3 separate regions of the Homo sapiens genome follow, and regions 1 and 3 are each linked to region 2. Evidence: promoter capture Hi-C in 16 types of primary human blood cells and fetal thymus (Javierre and others, 2016). All regions are on one chromosome and are shown on one strand. Each heading gives the region's core, a stretch centred on a gene start or on the middle of the fragment in contact. The rest is flanking DNA. Distances are from core to core; before and after follow the strand shown.

Region 1 (4,513 bases), core at 1,849-4,348, 150 kb before region 2:
TCCTATTCTCTTGCTGTGATTCTATGAATATTTCATTTTCCTCTATTGACGTCATCCATAAAAAGGCTTTTAGCTGCCACTTCTTCTTTCTTCCTTTTTGGTGTTTTTTTTTCTCATTAACAGTAGGTCAGACATTCTTCATTTTTTAATACATGAAAATTAAACATTCCTCAGCGGATCATCACTGCTCGGTTTCAGGATGATGAAGAAAAATGTTTCTGTTCCATCACATTTGGGTTGCATCATGTGGAGGTGCAACCCCACTATGACTCTCACTGTCATTCTATCTGAAAAACATCTCAAAATGGTATTATTGTCAACTCCAAGCTTAAACAAGATAATGTATCCTGGTTTTATATACTTGAAAATGTAAACATTTTCCAGTTATCTGGAGATTTTTCTCTGATTCTTCTTTACTAAATTTAACTGGAGAGAACATGTCTCATTCATGAGCCTCTGTCCTCCTGATAACATTTTAAATGTAATGTAAATGCAATGTAAGGGAACAACGTAGCTATGATGTGGTCTCAGCTGTCAGAGAAGAGGCACCATGTAAGATCTCTCTTTTTGATTTATTGTTGTCATTGTTTATAAAGACAATATGATGATCACTATGGAAAATGTAAGTGGTACAGAAAACTATCATGAAGAGTTTCTTTTTAAAAATCATAAATCTTATTACATCAATAATCACTGAAAATCCTGGTGTACATGCCAAATATATACTGTACATCTACAGTCTTAAATTAATGATGTATGTTATACTCTATGTGTTGCGCAGCCAACTACTTTCACCCAAAACATCTTTTCATATCTTTTTAAAAGTTGCTGTTTCTGTTCTTGTAGCCACTAATACTAAAGTTACCATTTAATCATATTTCATAAAGTATGTATACATTATCACAACTTAAAAGTAAGCTGATAGCACGATCATATGATCCCCGTGAAAGCAGGGCTCCTCTGTTTAAAATCTGTGTATTTTTCTCATTTACTTGAAGCTCAGGGACTGTTCTCTCTACCCCCACCCCAGCCTTCAAGCCCAGGTTGATCTTCCTTCCTCACAAAAAAGATTCTTACACAAACAACCTGTCCAACCAAAATCTTTTCCAGATAAACATATGTTTCCTGCTGAGAACTAAAAGAATCCTGCCCTTTAGTTTGGCTTATTCCATTTCCCTTTTGATTTTTTTTTCTCTCTTATCCACTGGTAGACTTCTAAAGTCCCTTTTAAGCTCTCAAGTTCTGGTTTCATGATTTTGGAAAAATCTTAAAGGATATTAGCCATGAGGAGTATGCTGCCGAGTCATTTCCTTCTCCAAGTGCATGGTGGAGAGAAAGCTCTGCTGCCTTCTTCATGTTTCTGATTCAACATGATTTTTAAAACTGCTGTACTGTTGCTCACTGTAAACAGACTAATTTGAAATCCAACACCAAAGATTAACCACCTTTATCACAAAACCAAGGTGAGAGCTTTGAACCTCGGCCACCATTTTTTGATAGTTTTTTTTTTTTTTTTTTGAAGAGGTTGGGGGGTGAGGGGAGGGAACTTAGAGGACAGGTCAATAGGTGCAGCAAACCACCATGGTACACGTATACTTATGTAACAAACCTGTACGCTCTGCACATGTATCCCCCCCACTTTTTTTTTATTAAGAAGAAATAAAGGAAAAAAAAAAAGAAAAAGGTAAAGGGGATCACGGTGGCTCACGCCTATTATCTCAGGACTTTGGGAGGCTGAAGTGGGAGGATCACTTGAGGCCAGGAGTACAAAACCAGTCTGGACAATATAGCGAGGGACTCTGGAAGTCATGTATTCTTTCTGTGCCTGGTGGCAGGCTTTTCTGGAAATGGAAAAGGCTGAGTCAAATAATCAGTGAAGTTCCTTCTAGCTCTTAAGAGTCCATGATCCCAGTGAAACTAGCGTTACTGCTGGGCGCAGTGGCTCGTGCCTGTAATCCCAGCACTTTGAGAGGCCAAGGCAGGAGGACTGCTTGAAGCCAGAAGTTTAAGACCAGCCTGGGCAACAAAGCAAGACCCTCTGTCTATTAAAAAAATAAAGTAAGAAACTAGCTTTCCAGAATGAGGGCAAAATAAAGATATTTCAGAAAACTGAGATTGTTCACTACCAAATACCTTCGCTAAATAAAGAATGTACTTGAAGAGAATCTACTTGAAGAAGGAGGGAAATGTTCGAGGGAAGGTTTGAGCTATACAAGAAAGTGGTATGTTAAAAAATTATAAACATGTAAGTAAATAGAAACAAAGAAGGATGGAATAACTAATAACATCTAGTTAATGGAGCTTCAAAAGAAAAATAAAAAGATATCAAAAATATCAAGGAAATGCACATAAGCCAGGAGGAAAGTGACTGGAGTTAAAAACATTCTAACATCCTTAGATTGCTCAGTAGGAGGGTAAAGTGGTAGCTAACTTTAGACTTAGTTACACAGACATGTTAAAATTCCAAGTATAATCACTTAAAAAAAAAAAAAAAGAGAGAGAGATTCTATCTTCCAAACCAATAGAGGTGGGAAAAAATGGAATTGGTAGAGACAGTGGTAGAGGGAGAATCTCAATAAACTTCTAGAAATAGGAAATCTAACCACCTGTTGTTTATAAAGCACAAACCTAAGACATAGGTAGAAAAAGTAGAAAGTAAATGAATTAAAGAAGATGCAAAGCAGGGCAAATACTAGCCAAAAGACATGCAATGCAGCCACATTAACGTCAGATAAAATACACTGTAAAAGAAAGAATTGCTAGAAATAAAAAGAAGTGATTGTATAATAAAAGGTTTTACCAGGAAAATATAACAGTATATTTGTATATATTCAGTAGCAGAGCTTTAAAGTAAACCAACAAACAGCATTTACTCATTACTGCAGAGCTATACTGTTGCAGAGCTGAGTGGTGTCCTAGGATTACATTCCCTTCTCTAAGCATGCATTCTAGAACACTCTAAAAAGAAAAAAAAATCCAAATGGCAACATTAGCAGCAGCGAATCCATATGGGTCTGCAGCAACTCGATTCTTGCTTCCTTGGAGGAAAGAATTTGGCCAGAGAGGATAAGGTAGAATGAGACCAAGGCAAGTTTTAGAGCAGGAGTTAAAGTATATTAAAAAGTTTGAGAACAGGAATGAAAGGAAGCAAAGTACACGTGGAAGAGGGCCAAGTGGGCAATTTGAGAGATCCGAGGACCCTGTCCGACGCTTGACTTGGGATTTTTACACAATGGCATGGTGCTGAGGTTTGTGTCTCTCCTCCCTTGGTTTTTCCTTGGGGTGGGCTGTCCGCATGTGCAGTGGCCTGCCAGCACTTGGGAAGGGCCGCATGTACAGTGTGTTTACTGAAGCTGTGCACATGTTCATTTGAGGCATTTTTCCCTTACCAATTGAGTGTTCCTAGAGGAAGGTCATACACCAGCTAAACTCCACCATTTTGTCTCTTAGCATGCAAGTTTGAGCCCACTCATCCAACGCCTGAGATCCTATGAGGAAGCTACTGATTGGCCGGGTGCCGCGGCTCACGCCTGTAATCCCAGCATTTTGGGAGGCCGAGGCGGGCGGATCGCGAGGTCAGGAGATCCAGACCATCCTGGCCAACATGGCGAAACCCCATCTCTACTAAAAATATAAAAAATTAGCCAGGCGTGGTGGCACGTGCCTGTAGTCCCAGCTACTCGGGAGGCTGAGGCAGGAGAATCGCTTGAACCCGGGAGGCAGCGATTGCAGTGAGCTGAGATCACGACACCGCATTCTAGCCTGGGCAACAGAGCAAGACTCCATCTCAAAAAAAAAAAAAGGAAGCTGCTGATTAAGAGCTTAAGGTGTTTTCTATCTACTGGGAGTCTGCTTTCCCTGGTGCAAGCTGTGACCAACTAGTATGTTAGTGAGACAGTTTAACAACCACCTGACCATCACCTGATGGTTGCCTGACATTCCTGTGGGGGAGGGGGGCCTCTCCTGCCCCGCTCATATCTGCCTAACTACTCTAACAGCAAGGTCAGATATAGTCCCTATTCTTTTATTCCACTGGCTGTTCAAAATCATACCATGGCTGGCATCTGCTTTTCTATTGACAGAGATATGCTTCATTTGTCTTGGGTAAATACCTAAGAACTGCTGGGTAACAAGGTAGTGGTCTGTTTAGTTCTGTAAGAAACTGCCAGACCATTTTTCAAAGCGGTTGTACCATTTTGAACTCCCACTAAAAATATGAAAAGTTCTAGTGCTCCACAGTCTCACCAACATTTAGTGTTGTTGGTCTTTTTCATTTTAGCCTTTCTAGTGGTATCTCATTGTGGTCTTAATTTGCATATCCCTAAAGCCTAAAATTGCTGAGCATGTTTCTATGTGTGTATTGCCCATTCATATTTCTTTTGAGAAAATGTCTGTTCAAATCTTTTGCTCATTTTTTTAAAATTGGGCTGTTTGTCTTTTCATTGAATCATGACTTTATTTAGGGGGACACAGTCACTGTTTTTCCTATTAAGAAAAGCAACATATGCCTCTA
Region 2 (4,183 bases), core at 1,437-3,936:
ATCTGCACTATTATCTTTTTCCCTCAGGATACACACTTCTCTGACATCTAAAAAAGAAGCCTTTCCTTTAGGATACATGCTCTTCTAGACAGTTATCACTTGCCTTTCTCCTTCCCTTTCCACACATTTCTAAAAACAGGCTTTCCCCTTTAGAACCCCATTCTCTCTTTTTTTATTTTATTTTTATTTTTTGAGACAGGGTCTTGTTCTGTTGTCCAGGCTGGAGTACAGTGGCGCAATCATAACTCCCTGGTTAAAGCTATCCTCCCACCTCAGCCTCTTGAGTAGCTGGGACCTCAGGCACATGCCACCACACCCAGATAATTTGTTTTTATTTTTTGTAGAAACAAGATCTCGTTATATTGCCCAGGCTAGTCTCAAACTGCTGGGCTCAAGTGATCCTCCTGCCTTGGCCTCCCGAAGTGCTTGAATTATAGGCATGAGCCACCATGCCCAGCAAGACCTCATCTCCAAAAAATAAAAATAAAAATAAAAAAAGAGTGTCTTCCTATCTTGCTATCTGCTTCCCTTTCCCTGCACCTGATGGTAACCTCATTCCTGCCACACAAACCACCCAAAGTGTTCCCACAAAAGTCAAACCCCATAATTCCTTTTCATTTATCTCACTTGAACCCTCAGCTGTGTTTAACTCTGCTGACCATTCCTTGTCTTGAAATATTCTCTTTTGACTTTGAAAATCTGTCACCTTAATTAGTGGAATGAATAAACTAGTACCTTTAGGCCATCCAGGAATAGGAGAAAAGGAGGAAAGGCTCTGAGCTCAAGAATGGGGCTTGCCCTTTTAGGGGTGTGGTGGTGATCTACTAGAAAAAAGACTTAAGATTTACCAGATAGGCTTGGTGTGATGGCTCACACCTATAATCCCAACAATTTGGGAGGCTGAGGCAGAAGGATCTCTTGGGCTCAAGAGTTTGAGACAAGCCTGGACAACTGAGGGAGACACCTCTCTCTCAAAAAAAAAAAAATCTACAAAAGTTGTGAAAACTGAATTCCTTCCTAGAGACGAGTTTTGTGGACTAGTGATTCAATGAAACGGGTGGGTGGAACTCAACCATAATGATACAAAGAACTATTTATTCTTTTATTGAAAAAAAGGGTGACTGGAGACTGGATCACACTGTGGGAACTTGCTGAGAATTTTGGAACTTCCTCTCTTTGGGTATGATAAGAAGTGAGGGAATTGAAATTCAAGTCACTTGAATTTCCCTCAGTCTTCTATAATACCTGGTTTCCAACTTGCATTCATTTAACAAACTGGAATCAATGTTCCATTATTAAATCAATATTACTTTTTAATTTTAATGTGACTTGTAGAATGCAATTTGATACTTGATTACACCCTATGATTCATAGCTATTATTGGCTATTTTGATTGTTTCTTACTCCTAATATGTCCCCTATCAAACTGCAAATGCCTTGAGGTCAAAGGTCCTTTTTTGTCTAATTAGCATAGGACTGAACACTTGGAAGATGCTAACAACATTCCTCTGTTAAATTTAATAAGGATTTTAACTTTCCAAGTTCAATGGGTTTTGAATGACTCCTGAATATAATATATTATGCTAGGTGTAGTGTAATAGAGAAAACATTTGTATTACTTGCATTTTACAAGCTGGAGGAGAAGCAAGAACACAATACCTAGGGAAGATTTAGATTTAGTAAGAAATCAGAACGTCCCAATACCCCCTTGTATATGTTTTACCAACCTAGATTTAAAAAAAAAAAAAAAAAAGCCAGAATCCCAGGCAACATAGGGAGCTAATTTGAGTTCTTTTTATAATAAATCCTATAAATCCTTGTAGTTTACTTCCTTAGGCCAGACACTCCAGATGTTTTTGTGGATAGCAGCTAGGTCTCCTGGGACCTTGGATTGGGCCTTTCTCTAGTCAGGCAAATAATCTGAAAAGAAAACGAAATCACATGTAGTCCAGCACATTTTTTCCTTTCTTGGTTTCTCCACACCAGCTAAGAGTTATTTAAAGGCTCTGAACCTCTCCAGCCTTTGATTCTTTTTAAGGATGATTTTATTTTTAGAGAACTTTCCACATTTCCTAGTTATACAGCCAGACTGGGTGATCTGGCCAGAAAATCATTTTCCCTTAAAAAAAAAAAAAAAAAAAAAAAAAAAAAAAGCTAAAATTTGAACGCAGGCGTTGAATTCGAAACAGATTTATCATAACGTAATTCCCTGGACACTCCCAACTTGAGACTGAAAGCTGGGCGAAAGCGGTTTGTGAAGCTAACCTAAAAGACAAAATGGTCTAGAGCCACCTTTTCCCCGCAAATAACAGAGGATTAAGGATCTGAAATCTTCAAGCCTCCAGGACCACGGTGCAAGCCCTCAGCAAAAATTTCTGCTGGAGGCCGGAGCGCCTTTTGATTTCGGGAGACTGGCCCAGGAACTCTAGTCACTTGGAAGGCGGAAGAGAAGGTGGTACCTGAGCCAGGTAGGAGCCACTCAGAGGCAGCCCGGGGCCGCCACTCACCTAGGAGAGGAGGTGGAGTCCGATGACCTGGACTGAGAGGAAACGCGAGACTGAGTCTACCAGGTGAGGTAAAAAACACCCACCTGCTCACCTCGGAAGGGGCGGGCGAGGTGCGGCTCCCGGTGACCCGCGGGGGTGCAGCGCACCTGGGCGGAGGCGGAACTGGGAGGGTGTGGGCACTGCTCGTAGGGCCTGGAACTAAACTCACCTGTGACGGAGGCAGAGGAGGGGCCCGGGCAAAAACCCACCTGAGCTGGCGGGAAACCCGACCCGCGAGCAGTCCCCGGGCTTGCGCGGCGCGGAGAGGGAGGCGCCCCGCGGCGGGGCCCCCACTCGGTCAGCCCGCGCGTCGGTCCCCGCGCGGCCGCCATGACCTGGAGCGCCACGGCCCGGGGCGCCCACCAGCCCGACAACACCGCCTTCACTCAGCAGCGCCTCCCCGCCTGGCAGCCGCTGCTGTCGGCCAGCATCGCGCTGCCGCTCTTCTTCTGCGCGGGCCTGGCCTTCATCGGCCTGGGCCTGGGCCTCTACTACTCCTCCAACGGCATCAAGGAGCTGGAGTACGACTATACAGGCGACCCGGGCACCGGTAACTGCTCGGTGTGCGCCGCGGCTGGCCAGGGCCGGGCGCTGCCGCCCCCCTGCTCGTGCGCCTGGTACTTCTCGCTGCCCGAGCTCTTCCAGGGCCCAGTGTACCTCTACTACGAGCTGACCAACTTCTACCAGAACAACCGGCGCTACGGCGTGTCCCGCGACGACGCGCAGCTGAGCGGACTCCCCAGCGCGCTGCGCCACCCTGTCAACGAGTGCGCCCCCTACCAGCGCAGCGCGGCCGGCCTGCCCATCGCGCCCTGCGGCGCCATCGCCAACAGCCTCTTCAACGACTCCTTCTCGCTTTGGCACCAGCGCCAGCCCGGCGGGCCCTACGTCGAGGTGCCGCTCGACCGCTCCGGCATCGCCTGGTGGACCGACTACCACGTCAAGTTCCGCAACCCGCCGCTGGTCAACGGCAGCCTGGCGTTGGCCTTCCAGGGCACGGCGCCCCCGCCCAACTGGCGCCGGCCAGTCTACGAGCTCAGCCCCGACCCCAACAACACCGGCTTCATCAATCAGGACTTCGTGGTGTGGATGCGCACGGCGGCGCTGCCCACGTTCCGCAAACTGTACGCGCGCATCCGCCAGGGCAACTACTCGGCCGGGCTGCCGCGGGGCGCCTACCGCGTCAACATCACCTACAACTACCCGGTGCGCGCGTTCGGCGGCCACAAGCTCCTCATCTTCAGCAGCATCTCGTGGATGGGTGGCAAGAACCCCTTCCTGGGCATCGCCTACCTGGTCGTCGGCTCCCTCTGCATCCTCACCGGCTTTGTCATGCTGGTCGTCTACATTCGCTACCAGGACCAGGACGACGACGACGAGGAGTGATTCCGGCTTTCCAGGGATCCCTCCTGCTTCTTGCCAAAACTCTTGCAAGGTGCTTTTGGCATCTCCTCCTCGCCCGTCACCCAATTCCAACCTCGCCTAGCTTTTCCTCCCTTTGTGAATGAGGGGACCAGATAAGGGAATTACCCCCCTTGCTCTTGGGGGGCTGCTAGACTGTCTTGCCGCGGGGAGGGATGTTGACTGCAGAGTGAAACATCCTTGCAAACTCTTCCCACCTCCTTCACGACACTGAG
Region 3 (4,268 bases), core at 1,651-4,150, 240 kb before region 2:
TGGGCAGCAGGAATCGCGCAGGGAGAGAAAGTGCTGGGCCATCAGTTTTGTCAGTCAACTATTACAATCAGCTCTGCATGGGGAAGTCTTGGGACGCAGCTCTCAGAAGACGCAAGTGGGCAAGACAGGGATGTGACTCATCCTGGTCACAGGATGCCCGAGGCCACAAAGGCAGGTTAGACACCTTAATCCTGATTTCAATCTAATTTTAGGCATTCTCAGAACTGTATGAGCTGTAAAGGAAACGCCATGGCTGTTCTCATACCAAGTGCTATTTAATAAGACAGATCGCTCAAACTGGGATCCCAAGAGGGTTCAATTAAGAGCATAATGTAATTCCAGGCTACCAGTGCTGCCCTCAGCCCAAGTATCTCATACCTGCTCTATGAAGTCTGTCCTGATGTCCCCAGACAGTCATAGCAATATCAACTCTGCTCCTAGGGTGCCCAGTTTATACTTCTATGATAGCATACCCCGCACTGTATTCCAGAAGGCTCTGTCTGTGCACCTGTCTTCCTTCTTAGCAGCTCCAGCATGGTCCTGGCAGGAGGTGCTGACCAAAGGGATAAACAGAAGCATTTCAGATGGACCCCAATGGGACTGCCCTGGCCAACTCAGAGCCTATCTTATTTTTAGGGGATGGAAGGACACTCCATAAACTTTGCTCCAAAGTACTTAAACTTATAAAAAGCCACATGTTTTACCCCTTAAAGATAGACTCAAGAGGGAAAAGAAGAAACCTGAAATCAAAATTTAAATTCTTCTCTTTGATGAAGCTGGAGAAAGAAAGTGGTTTTGAAGGGTCAATTATTAAACAACGAGGACCAAGCAGAACACTTATCCTCATGTTGGCTTGCATCCAAACGGAAGAGCAGAACATGGAGAGGGTGACTCAAACAAAGCCAAAGATTATAGAGCCATTTACAGTCATGGTCAGCTTCCACTCTAAAGGGAAATCATGCCTTTATTTTTTTTAAAGCAAAAGAAGTCACCCTAAGCCTCCTGACTTTAGTTTGAAATATGCAGAGGTCAGTTTTTGGCTTAGGAGTACCTCAGCTTCCTATGCCAACATGTAACTCAGCAGCTGAACTTAACAAGGCTACACAATGAAGATTACAAGTTCATACAGGGCAGAGGCTCAAATACTAAAATGCCAAAACCACAGTTACCGGCTTGCCATTCATTAGCTCATTGAGCACCGGTATTTAATAGCTACAGCTTTTGTCATGCAAGCATAGAAGGGTAGAAAGAGTTATTCTATCCTCTGTGCTTGTCTGAAAGCTACATTGTTCTTGCTGGGTAATCAGGGTTACTTAAAATGCCCACAGTAGTTTCAGAGAGAATTCCCAAGTGATTGAAGACAAAGGAGATTCAGAAATTGGATTTATTTTGTTTCCACCATAAGCTATCCTGAGAGTAATAAAACAGATTGACATGAGTCTTACTGCTTAGATCACTAGAGTCAGTTACTCTTCCAAAAGAAATAAAGGAAAGCGAGTTGAGAGCTGGCTCCTTGAACAAGAATGAATCTAGGAGGCTATTTATATGAACTATTTTTAACATATTTTTCAACTTTTATTATGGGAAATTTCAAAACAGACAAAAGTAGGGAGAATGACACAACTCCCATACTGATCACACAGCCTCGGCACCTGCCAATGCACGTCCAAACATGCTCCCTCGCTACATCGACTCCCTCCCTCCCTGATCCATCTTTTATCAGATTATTTTGAAACAAATCCAGGATATGAGCTATTTCATCTATACACATTTTAATATCTGAATCTCAAAGATAATAATTCTTTAATAGAGTACAACTTTGATACCCATTATCATAAAATACACAGTCAATTTATGATTGTCAGCATACTGCCATTTGTCTGTTGCTCATTTGGGGGTGGTGAGTCTGTGGGTCTGTCTAGAAAACCTGGAAAAAAGCTTTTGTGAATAACAAGAATAACAGTGTCTTCAGTGGTTAACATATACTGAATGTTCATCAAATGCTAAGTGCTTTATCTATATTCTTATTTTATCCTCAAAATAACTCTATGAAGTAGGCTCTACCCCAAGATTATATAGCTAGACAGGGGTAAAATCAGGATTCAGATTTACTTCTGCTCACCTCCAAGGCCTGGGCTTGTGACTTACTACACCAGGCCCAATCCCTTCTATGTAGCAGTGTCACCGGCCAATCCCCCGGATAGATTGTTTCCCAAAAGGACTTTAATTGAAACAAGAACCACCTGAGGGAATCAATAAATATTCTAAGATGGCACTATGATAGAGGGATGTTTTATGCATATTACTATGAAATGCATAATCGAAATACTGCAAAGCAAGGTTTTTTTCTTAGCTTGTGCATAGAGTTCAATGGATTTTACAGAGTCCTTGAGGATACAGGCATAGGGGAGTGCACAGCAAATCTCTCAAGTGGTCAAATGTGCAGATCATTTGCTGCCTTCCACTGAGGAGGAGGAACTAGCATGTAGGTAAGTGTGAAAAGGGGGCATCTGCCAAGTGAGTGAATGTGGGTTATGGTCTTAATTTTAGAATAAAACTACTTAGGACTGGCTTGTGTTTTGAGTGCCTGGGTTTATACTTAAAGTTTTTTCAAAGCAAGATGGATTGTATTAAATGGGCAAAAGACTTTTGAAAAGTCACTGAATTAGCAAAAGCATAACATTTGGTTTCATCGTGAGTTAGACAGTAGTGCCATTCATGCATCACCTGACACGAGATATCCATCCCTTCACCCACCCAACCATTCTTTAGTATTGTCCATGAGCCTGGCCATATGCCAGGATGTTGGGATACAATAGTAAGCAAAGGGGGCACCATCTCTACCCACAAGGGGGTTAATGTCTGGTGGGAGAAGCAGACAGATCACCACACAACTAAATTTACAATTATCAACTGTGATGAGTGCAATGAGGAGAAAACATGGGAATAGATCAAGGGATGGCCTGACCTAGCACTGGGGGAAGATTTCCCAGGAAAGTGACATTTGAACTGAGCTGTGAAGATTATTAACCAAGTGAAGAGACAGAAAGAAGGGAAAGTGAGGGTAAGGAGAATTTCAGAAGGAAGGAACAGAGGTGAGGGGGTTCAGTCAAGAAATGAAGACTAGTGTGGTTGGAGTCCTGGGTGGCGAGAGAAGAGAGCATGGAGACAGGAGAGAGCAGGGACCAGATGAGGCAGGGGCCAGTGAGGATTTCAGTCTTTAGCCCAATAAACCATGGAAAACTCTGACTCAGGAGAGGGATGGCATTAGATTTTCGATTTTACAGGACTCCATATCAGAGGAGTTGAGAATGAACATGAGGAGATCATTTGGGAAGCTACTAGAGTATCCAGGAGATAAATGATGGTGGCCTGGTATAGGGAGGGTGGTAAGGTAAAGAGAACTAGATGTGTCAAGAACTACTGGGGGAAAGCAATGGGATTTAGCAATGGAAGGATGTAAAGGATAAAGGGAAGGAGGCATCAGCAGGTTCTGGATCACAGAATTTATTTTGGACAGATTGAGCTACTTTTTTTAGACATACAGGTGGAGATATTTAAGCAGCTGAATACACATGGCTAGATGTCAAAGGGAAGGCTGGTTCGGAGCTATAAATTTGAGAGTCATTACCTGGGTGTGGATGAGTTCACCTCAGGAGAAGGAATGAAATAAGGAGAGAGCCTGGGACTGAGCCTTGGGAAGAGGATCTCCTGAGGCCAAGATCTCTGCTCTTTTTTACACTGAGACTACAAAAACTAGTGACAAATTATACTTAGAGTAGGGTAGCAGAGCTGTGTGCCTAGAGAGTGGGGCCCAAATCTTTTGCCTCCATATGGGCCACCTATAGTCCAGGTAAGCTTTAAAAAGATTAAGGCCGGGCACAGTGGCTTACGCCTGAATCCCAGCCCTTTGGGAGGCCGAAGCGGGAAGATCACTTGAGCCTGGGAGGTCAAGGCTGCAGTGAGCCATGATCACACCATTGCACTCCAGCCTGGGCAACAGAGTGAAACTCTATCTTAAAAAAAAAAAATTAATAAAATAAAATAAAAAGATTAGAAAAACATCAATCTTGTACATTCAGAATCACCCAATGGATTATTTTCAGGTTAAATTCTCAATCTCTGCTATGTGATATGATACTCTTGTGAGTGTAAAATTAAGAATCTTATTTTACAAAGATATTGGTTGCTGCATCATATATAATTTGAAAAAAAGCTAAATTATGTATCAACCGTGGAATGGCTAAATAAATAATGGTATTTCTATG

What was found. The method cuts DNA at HindIII sites, captures the fragments that hold promoters and counts their contacts. A CHiCAGO score of 5 or more calls a contact.
Region 1: a fragment that was not itself captured here is called in contact with the fragment with the promoter of TMEM30B in region 2 in 1 of 17 cell types (total CD8 T cells); the score reaches 5.1 in total CD8 T cells.
Region 3: a contact is called between a fragment that was not itself captured here and the fragment with the promoter of TMEM30B in region 2, in 1 of 17 cell types (total CD8 T cells). The highest score is 5.4, in total CD8 T cells.

The regions. Positions count from the first base shown.
Region 1 is chr14:61,430,049-61,434,561 of GRCh38, reverse strand. The region is part of intron 2 of PRKCH (protein kinase C eta); the gene reads right to left. Among named protein-coding and RNA genes, the nearest start is that of PRKCH-AS1, 110 kb to the right of the region's middle. The HindIII fragment of the contact is 5,538 bases long and covers 330-4,513 here.
Region 2 is chr14:61,279,841-61,284,023 of GRCh38, reverse strand. It overlaps TMEM30B (transmembrane protein 30B), which reads left to right and starts at 2,686. Exons shown (of 1, transcript NM_001017970.3): 1 at 2,686-4,183. The coding sequence starts at 2,877. The coding sequence ends at 3,932. It also overlaps a transcript of PRKCH not described here. RefSeq lists an enhancer at 3,261-4,183. The HindIII fragment of the contact is 12,699 bases long and covers 1-4,183 here.
Region 3 is chr14:61,521,337-61,525,604 of GRCh38, reverse strand. All of the region lies in intron 10 of PRKCH (protein kinase C eta), which reads right to left. Among named protein-coding and RNA genes, the nearest start is that of PRKCH-AS2, 22 kb to the left of the region's middle. RefSeq lists an enhancer at 88-237. The HindIII fragment of the contact is 1,920 bases long and covers 1,941-3,860 here.